4 separate regions of the Homo sapiens genome follow, and all the other regions are linked to region 4. The links are contacts of gene promoters, found by promoter capture Hi-C in blood cells and fetal thymus (Javierre and others, 2016). All regions are on one chromosome and are shown on one strand. The core of a region is centred on a gene start or on the middle of the fragment in contact, and the rest is flanking DNA. Distances in the headings are between cores, read along the strand shown. Region 1 holds the start of GOT1 (glutamic-oxaloacetic transaminase 1). Region 2 holds the start of SLC25A28 (solute carrier family 25 member 28). Region 3 overlaps SHLD2 (shieldin complex subunit 2). Region 4 holds the start of NOC3L (NOC3 like DNA replication regulator).

Region 1 (3,524 bases), core at 947-3,446, 5.1 Mb after region 4:
ATTATTCATTTAATCCTCAGACAACTGATGAGGCCAGTAAAATTATTATCCTACGCTACAGTCATAGAATGTGCTAGTGAATTGTGGAGTTGACTTTTAGTACAGTAGAATCTTTTTTATTTATTTATTTATTTATTTATTTTTGAGACGGAGTCTCACTCTGTTGCCCAGGCTGGAGTGCAGTGGCGCGATCTCAGCTCACTGCAAGCTCCGCCTCCTGGGTTCACGCCATTCTCCTGCCTCAGCCTCCCGTGTAGCTGGGACTGCAGGCGCCCGCCACCACGCCCTGCTAATTTTTTTGTATTTTTAGTAGAGACGGGGTTTCACCGTGTTAGCCAGGATGGTCTCAATCTCCTGACCTCGTGATCCGCCCGCCTCGGCCTCCCAAAGCGTTGGGATTACAGGCGTGAGCCACCATGCCTGGCCCAGTAGAATCTTAAGAGTAGAATTTGGGAGAGAGGTCATTCAATCTTGGCTCCTCATTTAACAGATGAGCCCCAGGGATGTTAAACAACCCTTCCAAGTCACATGGCTGGACCACGGTGCTGGGCCTGTACCTAGGTCTCCTGGCTCTTCCCACTACAGTGTACTGGCTACCACCTGGAGGTACCTGAAATACAGGTGTGGGCAGAGACTCTGAGGCCTGAGAGACCTGGCCTGGATTCCCAGCTCTACCACCCAGTGGTCAAATGACCTGGGGCAAATTGCTTCACCTCTCCAGTCTTCGGCTTCCTTGCCTCTAAACAGTAATAGTAATAAACCACCCTCCAGAGTTGTGAGCATTCAGTGAGATTACATGCATAAATAATTTGCTCATGGTAAGGAGTTGGAGTTCCTGGAAAACATGACAAAGGCACCTTCACAGCTGAGGTGGCCGTCTGAGTCAATGACTCCAATTCTGAGTCCATTGCTTCTGGCCTGTGCTGTCGGGGTGCTTTTTCTCTGCAGGAGCAGTTTATTTCTGAACCAAGGTCATAAATTAGTTCATTTTGCAGTTCTTGAACTGAAAATTTTTATTCAATATCTTTTATGAGAATCACTCAAAGAAATGCCAAAACAACAATAACAGTAATACCTAACACTTATATAAATCCTACTTATGTGCCAAATACAGCTATAAACACTTTAAATGTACTTAATCCTCACAGAAACCCTGTAAGATAGTTCAAAGGTAAATTGAATTAATAAAATAAATCTGACGTGGTTTTTTGTTTTTTTTTTTCTTTCTTTCTTGAGACGGAGTCTCACTCTGTTACCCAGGCTGGAGTACAATGGCGTGATCTTGGCTCACTGCAACCGCCACCTCCCAGGTTCAAGCGATTCTCCTGCTTCAGCCTCCCAAGTAGCTGTGACTACCAGTGTGCACCACCACGTCTGGCTAATTTTTGTATTTTTAGTAAAGATGGGGTTTCACCATGTTAGCCAGGCTGGTCTCGAACTCCTGACCTCAGGTGATCCACCTGCCTTGGCCTCCCAAAGTGCTGGGATTACAGGCGTGAGCCACCGTGGCAGGCAAAATCTGACGTTTTAAAAAGATGTATTTAGATTGACAGTAATACTAGTTCTTTGTATACATCCCGCTGCAAAGAAACGCTTGGAGGTTTTGGACTGGTTTTAAATTAAGAGACCAAATGGTGTCCATTCAAATTCAATTTGAGGCAATCTTTCAACATTTCTCCCACTCAGTTGCCTGCTAAAAACATCATTTTCCCTCAATGGGCCAAACTATGTAGTACTGACTTATCTTAAAAGCTTTATGATGAAAAATTTCAAACCTATACAAAAGCTGAGAGAATAATATAACGTATGCCCATGTACCCATCATCCAGCTTCAACAAATTACCCGCTTCAACAAACCATCACTTTTCAATGGATTTTTCCTTACCCCTCCCCATACTCCTTAGTGAAGACTTTTTTTTTTTTTTGAGAAAGAGTCTCGCTCTGTCGCCCAGCCTGGAGTGCAATGGCACGATCTCGGCTCACTGCAACCTCCGTCTCCCGGGTTTAAGCAATTCTTCTGCCTCAGCCTCCCGAGTACCTGGGACTATAGGCGGCCAACACCACGCCCGGATACTTTTTTGTATTTTTAGTAGAGATGGGGTTTCACCGTGTTAGCCACGATGGTCTCATCTCCTGACCTCGTGATCCGCCCGTCTCAGCCTCCCAAAGTGCTGGGATTACAGGCCTGAGCCACCGCGCCCGGCCGACTTTTTTTTTTTTTTTTTAACAAATGCTATGCACAGACAAAACGTTATCTATGAGAAACCTGATTCTGAGCGTCCTTCATGTCACACTCTGCTACAAAATGATTCCACCTTCTCTTTCCACAATTTCTAGTCCTTTTATTCTAAGTCTATTACCTAGCATAAGACTTTATCCTACCCATTTTCATCTCTCTGGCTGGTCTTTGCACGTGGCAAAATCCAAATGGAGAAAATAAGTGTCTGTGGGGCTTCAAACATCCAAATGATAGTGAGAAGAATAACAAATTCATCAGAGAGGGTTAGGGGTAAAAAATTTGAGAGGCACTCCAATATAAATCTTCTTGGCAGATGGGGAAACTGAGGCCCATGCTCTGAGCTGTCCAAGGTACAGAAGAGAATCACTTGAATCAAGAAATGAAGATAGGATGTGTGGAAAGTAAGCTTCTACCATCCATACTTCTCTCCACTCCTTTCCACCATCTCTACCCATTCCTACCACATCTGTGACGGCCAGAACCATCTCCCCAGACCCCCCGGGGGCAGCATTAACCTGTCTCAAAGCATTGTGTAACACCAGCAGATTTTTAAATCCTTAAGGGCAAAATCAAGCCTCAGTCTCCCCCTACAAAGCTTAATAAGGTGGCTGATTGATACTCGGTGGTCACTCAAATATTTACCGACTCAGAACAGAGCTTTCTAGCGTTAAAAGTTCTCCTTTACCCATTTCCTAGCAACCAGAACCCTAAGCCTATCAGGCTTCCTATTTTTCTACCTCTCTCTACAAGCTCCGGCAGCCTCATTTCTTAGGAGGATGCAGTATAAAGAAGGCAGAATGGGGAATCGGAAAGACTGAGTTTGTGTCTTGGCTGCTACACCTGGTTTGTGCGGCCTCGGACACATCGCCCCTTTCCAGGGACTCCACACCTGCATCTGTAAAATGGGCAGGTTTTAGGAAGCCTTCGTGGATCCAGCCTCCTCTCCGGCGCCGCCCTCTTCAGGCAGCGCCACACTGGGCCTCGGCTTCTCCCACAGTCTCCACGACCTGGGTTGGGTCCGCTCCACTCCCCGAGCTGCTCACACTCCAGAGCACTACATCCTTACCTCCCACTCCCAGGTTGACCTTGCGGGGGTCCGGATCCTCCCTGAAGTCGGCAGTGAGCTTGAAGACCAGGACAGGCTGGGCCTGCGGAACCTCGGCAAAGACTGACGGAGGTGCCATATCGAGAGACTAGGAATCAAGAGATTTCACCCCACGCCCGGAGCTGGCAGGTCAGGTCTGGCCGTTGCGACTGGAGGAGACACTCACCTTCACCTAGCCGG
Region 2 (3,549 bases), core at 1,043-3,542, 5.3 Mb after region 4:
TCAAAAGGCAATGTCAGCTTTCATTTGCAAACATTGTGGTTGCCCTTTAGGCTCCAACAACATGGATATCTGCCTCCAGTCTTAAAGACTGGGCTGCTTTTCCTCCCCACTCATCCACTTATTAAAAGAAGAAGGATAGCTGCTGGGGACAAGCAAACTGGGAAGTCTTTTCTGAAGGAAGAGATTTGAATTTTACTTTCATGCCTGCACAAAAGTGTTTAACATACTCACTGACACTAAATCATACTGGCCTCACCTAGTTCTTCCCTCTAAGTCATTTAAATCCCAGCATTAAGTGCAAGTGAAAATGAGCCTTCTAAAATAAGCTTTCGTATTGTTGACAACTCCTGAGCATTTTTTTCTCAAATCATTATTTCCTTAATAGAGGGCTTTCAGGCATAACTGCTATGTTGTATGACTAATTTTTAAAAAACAAAAATTCCAAAGTTTATGTAAATGAGTAAGAACTGTTCTTCAAAATAGTTACCTTGGAAGGCTACAATTGACTTATTCCAGCAAAGCTGTGGTTATGCAAAACCTTTCTGGAACTTCTCTTTCAGAGGTGTTTCCTCAACGGGTTTATAGGCCTCAGAAGTAAAGCAGTCTCCTTGCTTTCCAGTCCCACCTTATTTTGATGCCAAGCAGTATTACCCATTTTGACCTCCCACTTTATTCACCATATTTGATTCTGAATAGTCTTTGTTCTTGCAAAATCAATTCCATCTTGTCACAGGGCAAAGATTTGCCTCCCTTAAGGACATGCACCCAAATATTCTAGAAGCATTTTTAACAGGGATTTATAAAATGTTTATAGCAACAATAGCACTATGTAAATATATGGAGTAAGGAGATAACCTCCCGTTCTGTTATAATGGAACAGTGGTTAAATTGATAAGTTACAGTAATATTTCTAAGACAAATTATTACACTGTATTTTTCAAGCCATTACATAATTTTCACTGTTTTCATTGATCTGTTTTCCATTCAATACTCATCCAGAAAAACAGCATCCTAAACCCTGCACTCTACTCACAGTCTAAGTCTAGGGAGGTTACTCTGCAGCTAGATTATATTAACTTTTGGATATACGGCATTATTAACTCACAAGTCATTCAACCTAGAGTCTATACATATAATGTGTGCATCTTTTTTATTTATACTTGTTTTACATTTCAATGTTGTTACTTCTCTCTCATGGATTTTACAGTTTATTTCTATTTCTCCCAATTGACAAGGACATTTAACATTCTAATGTCCATTTTAGTCAAGTGCATTTACCCCGTTTTCAATGGATATGGCCCTTGTTAGGAGTTACCTTGTGTTAAAATACTCCTGCCAGTTTGCTGTCATTCACAAAGCTTAATGAGCGCTCCCCCCATTTCCTTATCCACATTCTAATGAAAAACATGAAACAGTACTGGAACCAAAGGGAAGTAAAAGGGATCTACTTTGCCTTTCCCAAGTTGATTCTCTCCTCCTTTTGAATACATAACACTTTCCTGATTTGAAGAGAAAACATACATCAAAAAGCTGCCAGGTCACTGTTTGACTATTACCCTTCACATGTAAAGGAGGCATCGGTCTTTGTCATATCAACAGTCCCCTCTAGTTTACCTCTCCCTCAATTCAGTCCTCACCTTTAATGGCTGGCACCTTTACTAATGTACAAGAATAAGAACTGTAAAGAACAATAATCTGTTTCTTTCTTCACCCAGCTTTCTTCAGAAGGACCTGACTTCAGTACACATAAATCATCCTGCTTGGTTGTGAATGCAATTAGTTTTACTTTCACAAGAATCGTGTCCTCTTGTTGATCTCTTTCCATTTTCTTCATACTTACATCTACTTTCTAATACCGTCACACTTCCTTTCTAGGCAACTTCTCCCTTTTTGCCAACTTCAGGTGGCCAAAGAAATATGCTATCAGTTTCATCTCTCTTGTTTGGAGGCTGATGTGCTCCCTGAACATACAGTCCTAATCCCAGCTCAATTTTCATGTTCAGGAAATAGGTGGGGTATCATGCTTGCTTCACAGAGAAACTGAAACCTATTCCTGAATACGATCTTTCCCACATTACTTCCAGTCTGGAATTCTGCATTCTCACTGCACAATGATTTCCAATCACTCATGTGTTAAGATTTAACATGTAAGTCCTTTATCTAGCTGAGAGATCCCAGATTCGGGTTCCTGCCCCGTCAGTAAGGGAAGATACAGCAAGGAGTTTGTAAAAGCACTAGCCCAGAAAACATCTCAAGCCGTTAGATCCATTTCAGGGTCTGGTTCACGCCAGTTGGCTTCACCTTAATCGAGTTAGTAGCACTTACCTGAGCTTCGGGATACCCCATCCCACCCTATTCCTGTTTAGTCCCAGGTGGGGTCCAGGGCTTTGGCTGACAGATTTTCGATCCTGAGTCCCGATTCAGATTTCACTGACGGTTAGAAATAGGTCCTGGTTCCTGACTGGGATCAACTCCCAGCTGGGACCTTGCTTGAATGGAGTGTCGGTTCGAATCATGTGGTAGTGGCAGGAGCCAGGAAGGAACCCATGTCGGCTCCGGCTCTCAGCCGGGATCCTGGCTCCGGACAAGACCCAGGGGTCGGGTCAGCCCCAGGTCGGGTTCGAAGCCGGGTGCAGGTCTCACCTTGACGCAGTCGATGGGGTACATCACGCAGTGCTCCAGGATCCCTGCCACGGCGCCTGCCACCATGTGCGTGGTGACAGTGGCTCCAGCCGGCAGCGCCTCGTAGTCCGGGCCGGAGTCCGGATCTTGTCGTACCGGGGGCCTGCAGGCCCCGGCCTCCCCGCCGCCGGCCCCCCGGCCCACGCCCCGCTGCAGCCACCCGTCCAGCAGCGCCGACTCCCCGGGGCTCCGCCCGGGCCCTGCCGCCGGCCCCCCCGCCACACCGCCAGCACCCCGCCCCTCCAACTCCATCCACCCGGGCCAGCTGCGGCGCCCACCCCCGCCGCCGCTGCCACCACTGCCGCCGCCGCCCCCCGGCCCCGTAGTGTCCGCCTCAGGCGCGGCCCAGAGAGCCCGGGGCCTCCGGCTCCCGCTTGGCCCCGCGGACACGCCCCCCAAGCAACCATTGGTGGAGACGCCAAGTTAGACCCACCCCTTTCCTTACGTACGAAAAATCAGCCGGTAGTATTAGCGAAGTCGCCTGTCATTCCTCCGCCCTGAGGCGTTGCTAGCGCCTACATCCCACCTTTTCCCCTTTGATCTTAGAAGCTTCTTGTTTATTGGTCACTGATTGGCCGACATGTGCGATCAACCCGCCTCTGACTTTTAGAAGGGCGGGAGAAACTTAAGGCTGAACTTTGATAGGCTCAACCACTCTTGATACTTTGACCGCGGCCATTGGCCCGCACCACGTCGGTCCCCGATTGGCTACAGAAAGAGCGACGCGCCCAGGGACTCTAGGGGCCGACTTCGGGCCCCTCACTAGCGCCTGCAGAGCTGCGGTCCCTGTGCGCGGGATCGCGTCGGGGGCGGGGCGGCGACAGGCCTTCAACGTCAAACTGCTGACGGGCGCCGTTACGACCCGCG
Region 3 (3,141 bases), core at 440-2,939, 7.3 Mb before region 4:
TGTGGAGATCGCATAGTTACGCACGTCGTGGTTGTGTCGCCCCACAGTACTGACTGCTTCACCTTTGCAGACAGAGGCTCCGGCCCGGCGCGGTGGCTCACGCCTTTAGTCCTAGCACTTTGGGAGGTCGAGGCTGGAGGATGGCTTGAGCCCAGGAGTTCGAGGCTGCAGTGAGCTACGATAGCTCCACTGCACCCCAGCCTGGGCAACAGAGGGAGACCCTATCTCCCTCTGAAATAGTCTAAAATAAGGAAACTAGAAATGCGATAATGCCCCCAGGAAATTCTTTCTCAGGAATATATGTATTTGTTAAATGGTTCAGTATATGATTTATTTTTTATTTTATTTATTTATTTGAGATGGAATCTTGCTCTGTCGCCCAGGCGGGAGTGTAGTGGCACCATCTCGGCTCACTGCAGCTTCCACCTCCCTGGGTTCGTTCTAGCGATTCTCCTGCCTCAGCCTCGGGGTAGCTGGGATTACAGGCCCGCGCCACCACGCCCGGCTAATTTTTGCATTTTTAGTAGAGACGGGGTTTCGCTGTGCTGGCCAGGCTGGTCTCCAACGCCTGACCTCAAGTGATCCGCCCGCCTAGGCCTCCCAGAATGCTGGGATTACAGACGTGAGCCACCGCGCCTGGCCTCAGTATATGATTTATAAGCTTTATGCTGTATGAGGGTTCAGTTATGTATTTATACATACTTGATAGGAAATGCTAAAGTTCACATTCCTATGGATAGCTTTTGGTGCTTTTCAAACTAACGAGGCTGGCACGGTGGCTCACGCCTGTAATCCCAGCACTTTGGGGGCCAAAGCAGGCTGATCGCTTGAGGCCAGGAGTTCAAGACCAGCCTGGGCTCGTCTCTATAAAAAGAAAATAAAAAATAAAGCTCTAATGACAGTCATTAAAACTAGCTGCCAAACACCACATTACTAGCGTTAGCGGTCTCAGTGTACTTGGGTGGTTTTAAAATGACACCCATTGGACCTGCAAAACGATGGTGCTTCCCGATATGTTCATGTTATTCATCTTTTAGAATATGGAAGAGAAAGTTCTTAGTTCTCGAAATATTGTGTAAAATATAAGGTGACAACCTGGATCTGTTAAATGACATTCATCTAAGTGTACTCTCAAAGTCAAAATTATCTTTTCATACAGGTGGAACTTATATTTTACCTTACTTGCTAAATAAGTCATTGTCATTAATTGTATTTGCACTGTGTTTTTCAGTGAAAAATGTACTCTGACCTGAATCCTGAATTTTCCTTGATGGTCAAAAGATTAAGGTATCAAATTTCCTTTTTTCTGGATGTATTATCGTTTTACTCTCTTACATTGCAATCCCCCACTCCTGCAAAAAACCCACGGAGTTTCAGAATAAAATGATTAGCATCAGTAAACATGGAAATATTTTTCTTTTTGGATTAAATTATTTGTTTATGTTCTGAGGAAAAATCTTTAAAAGCTTAGTTTTATTGTTTTTGTTGTTCTTTATAACCTTAGCCTTCAGAAAAATAAATGTTTAACTTTGCTTCTTCTGTGACTTGTTCACCTGAATTCAAGAAGGTGGAATTGGGCCTAAGGAGGTGGCTCACGCCTGTAATCCCAGCACTTTAGGAGGCTAAAGTGGGCGGATCACTTGAGGTCAGGAGTTCGAGACCAGCCTGGGCAACACAGTGAAACCTTGTCTCTACTAAAAATACAAAAATAAGCCAAGCGTGGTGGGGGGCCTACAAAAATTAGCCAGGCGTGGTGGCGGGGAGGGGGTTGGGCAGTGCTTGTAGTTCCAGCTACTTGGGAGAACCACTTGAACCAGGGAGAGAGGTTGCAGTGAGCCGAGATCGTGCCATTGCACTCCAGCCTGGGCAACAGAGCGAGTCTTCATCTCAAAAAAGGAAAGGCAGAATTGAAGAAGCTTTGGAAGAGGTGAGGAATAGAGCTGTGGAAATTACTATTTTTTTTTTAATTGAGAATCTCCTGTGTGTAGGTGCCTTACAAACTGGCTTCATGAGTACCCTATAAAACAGATGTTTTTATTTTTAAAATCATCATGGTTTTGTTTTGTTTTGTTTTTTTGAGACAGTCTTGCTCTGTTGCCCATGCTGGAGTGCAGTGGTGCAATCTCAGCTCACTGCAGCCTCTGCCTCCCAGGTTCCAGTGATTCTCCTGCCTCAGCCTCCCGAGCAGCTGGGATTACAGGCGCCCGCCACCATGCCAGGCTAATTTTTTTGTATTTTTAATAGAGACGAAGTTCCACAGTGTTGGCCAGGCTGTTCTCAAACTCCTGGCCTCAAATGATCTGCCCGCCTTGGCCACCGAAAGTGCTGGGATTACAGGTGTTGAGCCACTGCACCTGGTCATTATGTTTTAAAATTACATACAAGTTGTTAAAAAAATATGAACAGCAGAAATAGATTTTAGAAAAACAGAATGAAATTATCCATCTCTTCCCCCATTTAGTGAATATTTGGAGTATTTCTTTTCACACTGTAGGTATTATAATTCCTGATTTATTAGAAGCAGGGAGTGGCTGGGCGTGGTGGCTCATACCTGTAATCCCAGCACTTTGGGAGGCTGAGGCGGGCGGATCACCTGAGGTTGGGAGTTCGAGACCAGCCTGACCAACATGGAGAAACCCCATCTGTACTAAAAATACAAAATTAGCCTGGTGTGATGGTGAATCCCTGTAATCCCAGCTACTCAGGAGGCTGAGGCAGGAGAATTGCTTGAACCTGGGAGGCGGAGGTTTCAGTGAGCTGAGATTGCGCCATTGCACTCCAGCCTGGGTAACAAGAATGAAACTCCATCTCAAAAAAAAAAAAAAAAACAGGGAGTGAGGCCCACAGAAACCAAACAAATTGTTGATGATCACCAAGCTTGTAAATAGGGTAAGATTCAAACCTGTGTATCTGACTCCAAAGTTATACTATTTATACTATTCCAAGGAGTATTTTAAGTATTTGTTCCATTTAGTTAGAAATTATTTACTGTGATATAAAGTCTAATGAATTTCAACTTTAGATTTATGATTGCTTTTGTAAAATATACAGATAATTTGCAAAGTAAGGTTTTTTTTTATTTTTATTTTTCGAGACAGGGTCTCACTGTGTCACCCAGGCTGGAGTGCGGTGGCACGATCA
Region 4 (3,352 bases), core at 183-2,682:
TATATGCTTTATAGCAGTCCTATAGGACTACTATCCTTACCCACTCTAGGAAGATCTGAGAACAAGAAAAGCGATTACTAGAAAGCAAAGTTATTTCCATGAAGAACACTTCAGAATAAATCAATGGAAACCAGAGCACATGATGTTTTCACAATTACCTGGTCGCTTTTCCTTTGGGTTCTCCAATGGAATGGGTTTCTTAGACACAGCATCTTTCACAGCTTGCCTTAGTTTCCTCTGTTCTTTTCGGTACTTCTTGAGAGTGCTTTGTTGTTTAAACTGCTTATTTTTTAGCTTGTTTTCAAGTTTGACTTTACTAGTTTTTATTAACTTGCGAAAGCTTGGGATCTGTTTTTTATTTCTTCTCTAGAAAATAACAGAAAGAATACTGCATACCCAGAAACTTATTTTTTAAATCAGGTTAAAGAGAACTGATTACAAATTTCATTAGACCAATTCCACAATTTCAATGTCCCACAGCCACAGACTTGCATATAAAAGCTAAAACCAAACGATGGCTTTAATCCTACAGAAGAGCGCTACAGCATCAGTTATTCAATCCCAATTCACAGCAATTCAAAGGGTTCTACGATCCCCAAACAGGTTAAGAACCACTGATCTAGTAGTGGTAAGTGGCTATTCAAGGCTAGTTTAACACACCTGTAGTTTAACACATTCAAAGCAAAATGCTGGCTGTCTTTAATAAAACTTACATTTATCTACGATTTTATTACTTACAAAGTGCTCCAACAAATCACCTCTAACAGCCTAGTTGAGTACTGACTGCTGTTATCCTCACATTACTGATGAAGCTGCCAAAAGACCCATAAACTAAGGAGGGCAAAACTGAATTCGGATCTTTGGATTCCACTTCTCTTGCTGGTGACTCATTCAGAAATCCCAAAGTTAGTCCTGAACCCCAGGACTACCTCTTATTTTCTGGGAGAACCAGGACAAATCACTTGCTTTTCTATCTCTTTACCCTTCATGGGTACCGTGACTCACATTATAAACTCGCTGAGGGTAGGACCCTGCTTCTCATTTGTGAAAAACGAGTTCGAAAGACGGTCTTGAAAAATTCCTTCAAAGTATGAAATCCCACGCATGCAAAACTCCGTGCCTGTCTCTTCGTGATACTCTGAAGTGGTGCGCGCACACAGTGGGTAACCAAGGATGAGCTCGGTGTAAGGAATGGAAAGCCCCCAGTCTAAACCACCGCCCCCTAGACACGGGTGAAAACCTGCCTAAAAGCTAACTCAGGCAGTGACTCTATCACCCGAAGGGGCCCTAGGCCGCGGCGACCGGGCTTTTGAGGACACTTACCGCCTTCATCCTTAGGCCTTAAATGAATGCCGGCCAGACAAGTTCACCAGAAGCAGGGTTACTACAGAAATCCCGGGGAATGACACACGTGCCGAAGTCCCTACACTACCAGAGCCGGAAACGGCCTTCAGTCCCTCCCAATCCTCCGCCGCCGGAAGTGAGGGCGGGACTTCCGTAGACAGGTTCGGGCTCGCGCCCTCTCGCGGTGACTGTCTCGCGGCCCTGGACCGGTTGCCCCCCGGCGTGCGCGCGCGGACTGGCACGAGGGAAGCCCCGAGGGCGTCGGTGCCAAAGGCGGGAAGCCGGGCGGGAGGGGCGCATTTTGCAAGGTTATCTGAGTATGATTCTTTGACTCTCGCCCTATTTATTTCTTTTAAAACCTTGGGGAAATCGGGCTCCTCCTCTCAGAATGAGAGGACTTGGTTTTTTCGGTCACCTCATTGCATTTTGTGCCTCTCCTCACGTTGCTTATCTCATGCTGTTATAGATACTGATTTTCGTAGTCTTTTTCCTCCATACAGTCCTGAGGGCAGAAAGAAGCTTATTTTTTGTGTGTAATGCCTGCCCCTCGACGGACATTCTGGCCGTGTTTGTAGCATGGCGAATGATTTCTCATCAGCCTTGGTCACTTAAAAGTCTGTGATTCTTAGTGTTTTATTTTGCATTTTTTTTTTGCTTTAATTTTTAACCATTAGCTGATAAAGAACTGTATCCATGGCTGGGTGCGGTGGTTCACGCTTGTAATCCCAGCACTTAGGGAGGCAGAGGCGGGTGGATCACCTGAGTTCCAGGAGTTCGAGACCAGCCTGGCCAACATGGTGAAACCCTGTCTCTACTAAAAATACAAAAATCAGCCAGACATGGTGGCGTGCGCCTGTAATCCTAGCTACTCGGGAGGCTGAGGCAGGAGAATCGCTTGAACCCAGGAGGCAGAGGTTGCAGTGAGTCGAGATCACACCACTGCACTCCAGCCTGGGTGACAGAGCAAGACTGTCTAAAAAATAAAAATAAAAATAAAAAACTGTATCTGCATTTCAGTATCTTACAACTTTGGGTAAATTCTGTCTGCTTAGTAATTTCACCAAAGTCGTTTTTTGTTTTTGTTTTTTGAGACGGAGTCTTGCTCTGGCGCCCAGGCTGGAGTGCAGTGGCGCAATCTGGGCTCATTGCAAGCTCTGCCTTCTGGGTTCACGCCATTCTCCTGCCTCAGCCTCCCGAGTAACTGGAACTACAGGCGCCCGCCACCACGCCCAGCTAATTTTTTTTGTATTTTTAGTAGAGACGGGGTTTCACCGTGTTAGCCAGGATGGTCTCGATCTCCTGACCTCGTGATTCGCCCACCTTGGCCTCCCAAAGTGCTGGGATAACAGGCATGAGCCACCGCGCCCCGCCTAAAGTCGTTCATTTTTACAGGAAGTTTTATGGATTGCAAGAATAAGAGTATCAAAGTGCTTGTCTCTCAAAGACTTTTTTTTCTCAATAAATTTAAGCATTCCACTTCAAGTTTTTTGTGGGTTTTTTTGAGTCTATGATTTTTGAGCATGGCCCTGACACAGAGTCTGGCCTCGCAGTCCTGAGCAGGTGGGAAAACCCAGTAGTGCGGCTCAAAGGGTTCTGAGCCCCTTGAATAGTGTTGCTCTTAGAGAGACTGAGGGAAAAAAGTACCAATTTCCTGATCCCACCACAAAGACCAAGAGGTCCATCTGGCACTCTTCTTTCAACCTCCCTTCCAACTTCTTCCTTGCTCTGTCTCCTTCCACACAGTGTCAGAAACAGCAGAGCCTGTCCCGCTGGAGTATTACTTCATCAAACAAGTGGAAAACATCAGCCTGTGCTCTTCCCAAGTGCCTGAATTCCCTCCCAAGCATATCAACATATCTACAGTCACTCCCATCCTTTTAGCCTTCCTTCCAGTCTCTCCAAGGATGAGGCATCCCCATTCCAGTTCAAAACCAACTCCTCCCAGCTTCATCAGATTCTTGTATCATTAATTATCCCTTCTTTCCTGTGTTCTTTCCCTCTCTAATAG

The links. Contacts are between HindIII fragments. The CHiCAGO score rates a contact against its expected background, and 5 or more counts as called.
Region 1: a contact is called between a fragment that was not itself captured here and the fragment with the promoter of NOC3L in region 4, in 3 of 17 cell types (non-activated CD4 T cells, activated CD4 T cells and naive CD8 T cells). The highest score is 10.0, in non-activated CD4 T cells.
Region 2: a fragment that was not itself captured here is called in contact with the fragment with the promoter of NOC3L in region 4 in 3 of 17 cell types (activated CD4 T cells, naive CD8 T cells and fetal thymus); the score reaches 10.0 in activated CD4 T cells.
Region 3: a contact is called between a fragment that was not itself captured here and the fragment with the promoter of NOC3L in region 4, in 1 of 17 cell types (total B cells). The highest score is 5.2, in total B cells.

The regions. Positions count from the first base shown.
Region 1 is chr10:99,427,143-99,430,666 of GRCh38, forward strand. GOT1 (glutamic-oxaloacetic transaminase 1) reads right to left here and starts at 3,482. Exons shown (of 9, transcript NM_002079.3): 1 at 3,306-3,482. The coding sequence starts at 3,423. RefSeq lists enhancers at 3,323-3,382, 3,403-3,452. The HindIII fragment of the contact is 893 bases long and covers 1,751-2,643 here.
Region 2 is chr10:99,617,402-99,620,950 of GRCh38, forward strand. It overlaps SLC25A28 (solute carrier family 25 member 28), which reads right to left and starts at 3,038. Exons shown (of 4, transcript NM_031212.4): 1 at 2,644-3,038. The coding sequence starts at 2,934. It overlaps SLC25A28-DT (SLC25A28 divergent transcript), which reads left to right and starts at 3,444. Exons shown (of 1, transcript NR_186534.1): 1 at 3,444-3,549. RefSeq lists enhancers at 2,264-2,846, 3,430-3,549 and a silencer at 2,729-2,888. The HindIII fragment of the contact is 1,873 bases long and covers 1,357-3,229 here.
Region 3 is chr10:87,095,703-87,098,843 of GRCh38, forward strand. SHLD2 (shieldin complex subunit 2) reads left to right here. Exons shown (of 10, transcript NM_001330112.2): 2 at 1,232-1,287. Among named protein-coding and RNA genes, the nearest start is that of SHLD2, 2.1 kb to the left of the region's middle. RefSeq lists a silencer at 1-52 and an enhancer at 95-154. The HindIII fragment of the contact is 450 bases long and covers 1,465-1,914 here.
Region 4 is chr10:94,361,507-94,364,858 of GRCh38, forward strand. It overlaps NOC3L (NOC3 like DNA replication regulator), which reads right to left and starts at 1,433. Exons shown (of 21, transcript NM_022451.11): 1 at 1,324-1,433; 2 at 159-366. The coding sequence starts at 1,332. RefSeq lists an enhancer at 1,107-1,366 and a silencer at 1,507-1,636. The HindIII fragment of the contact is 1,523 bases long and covers 339-1,861 here.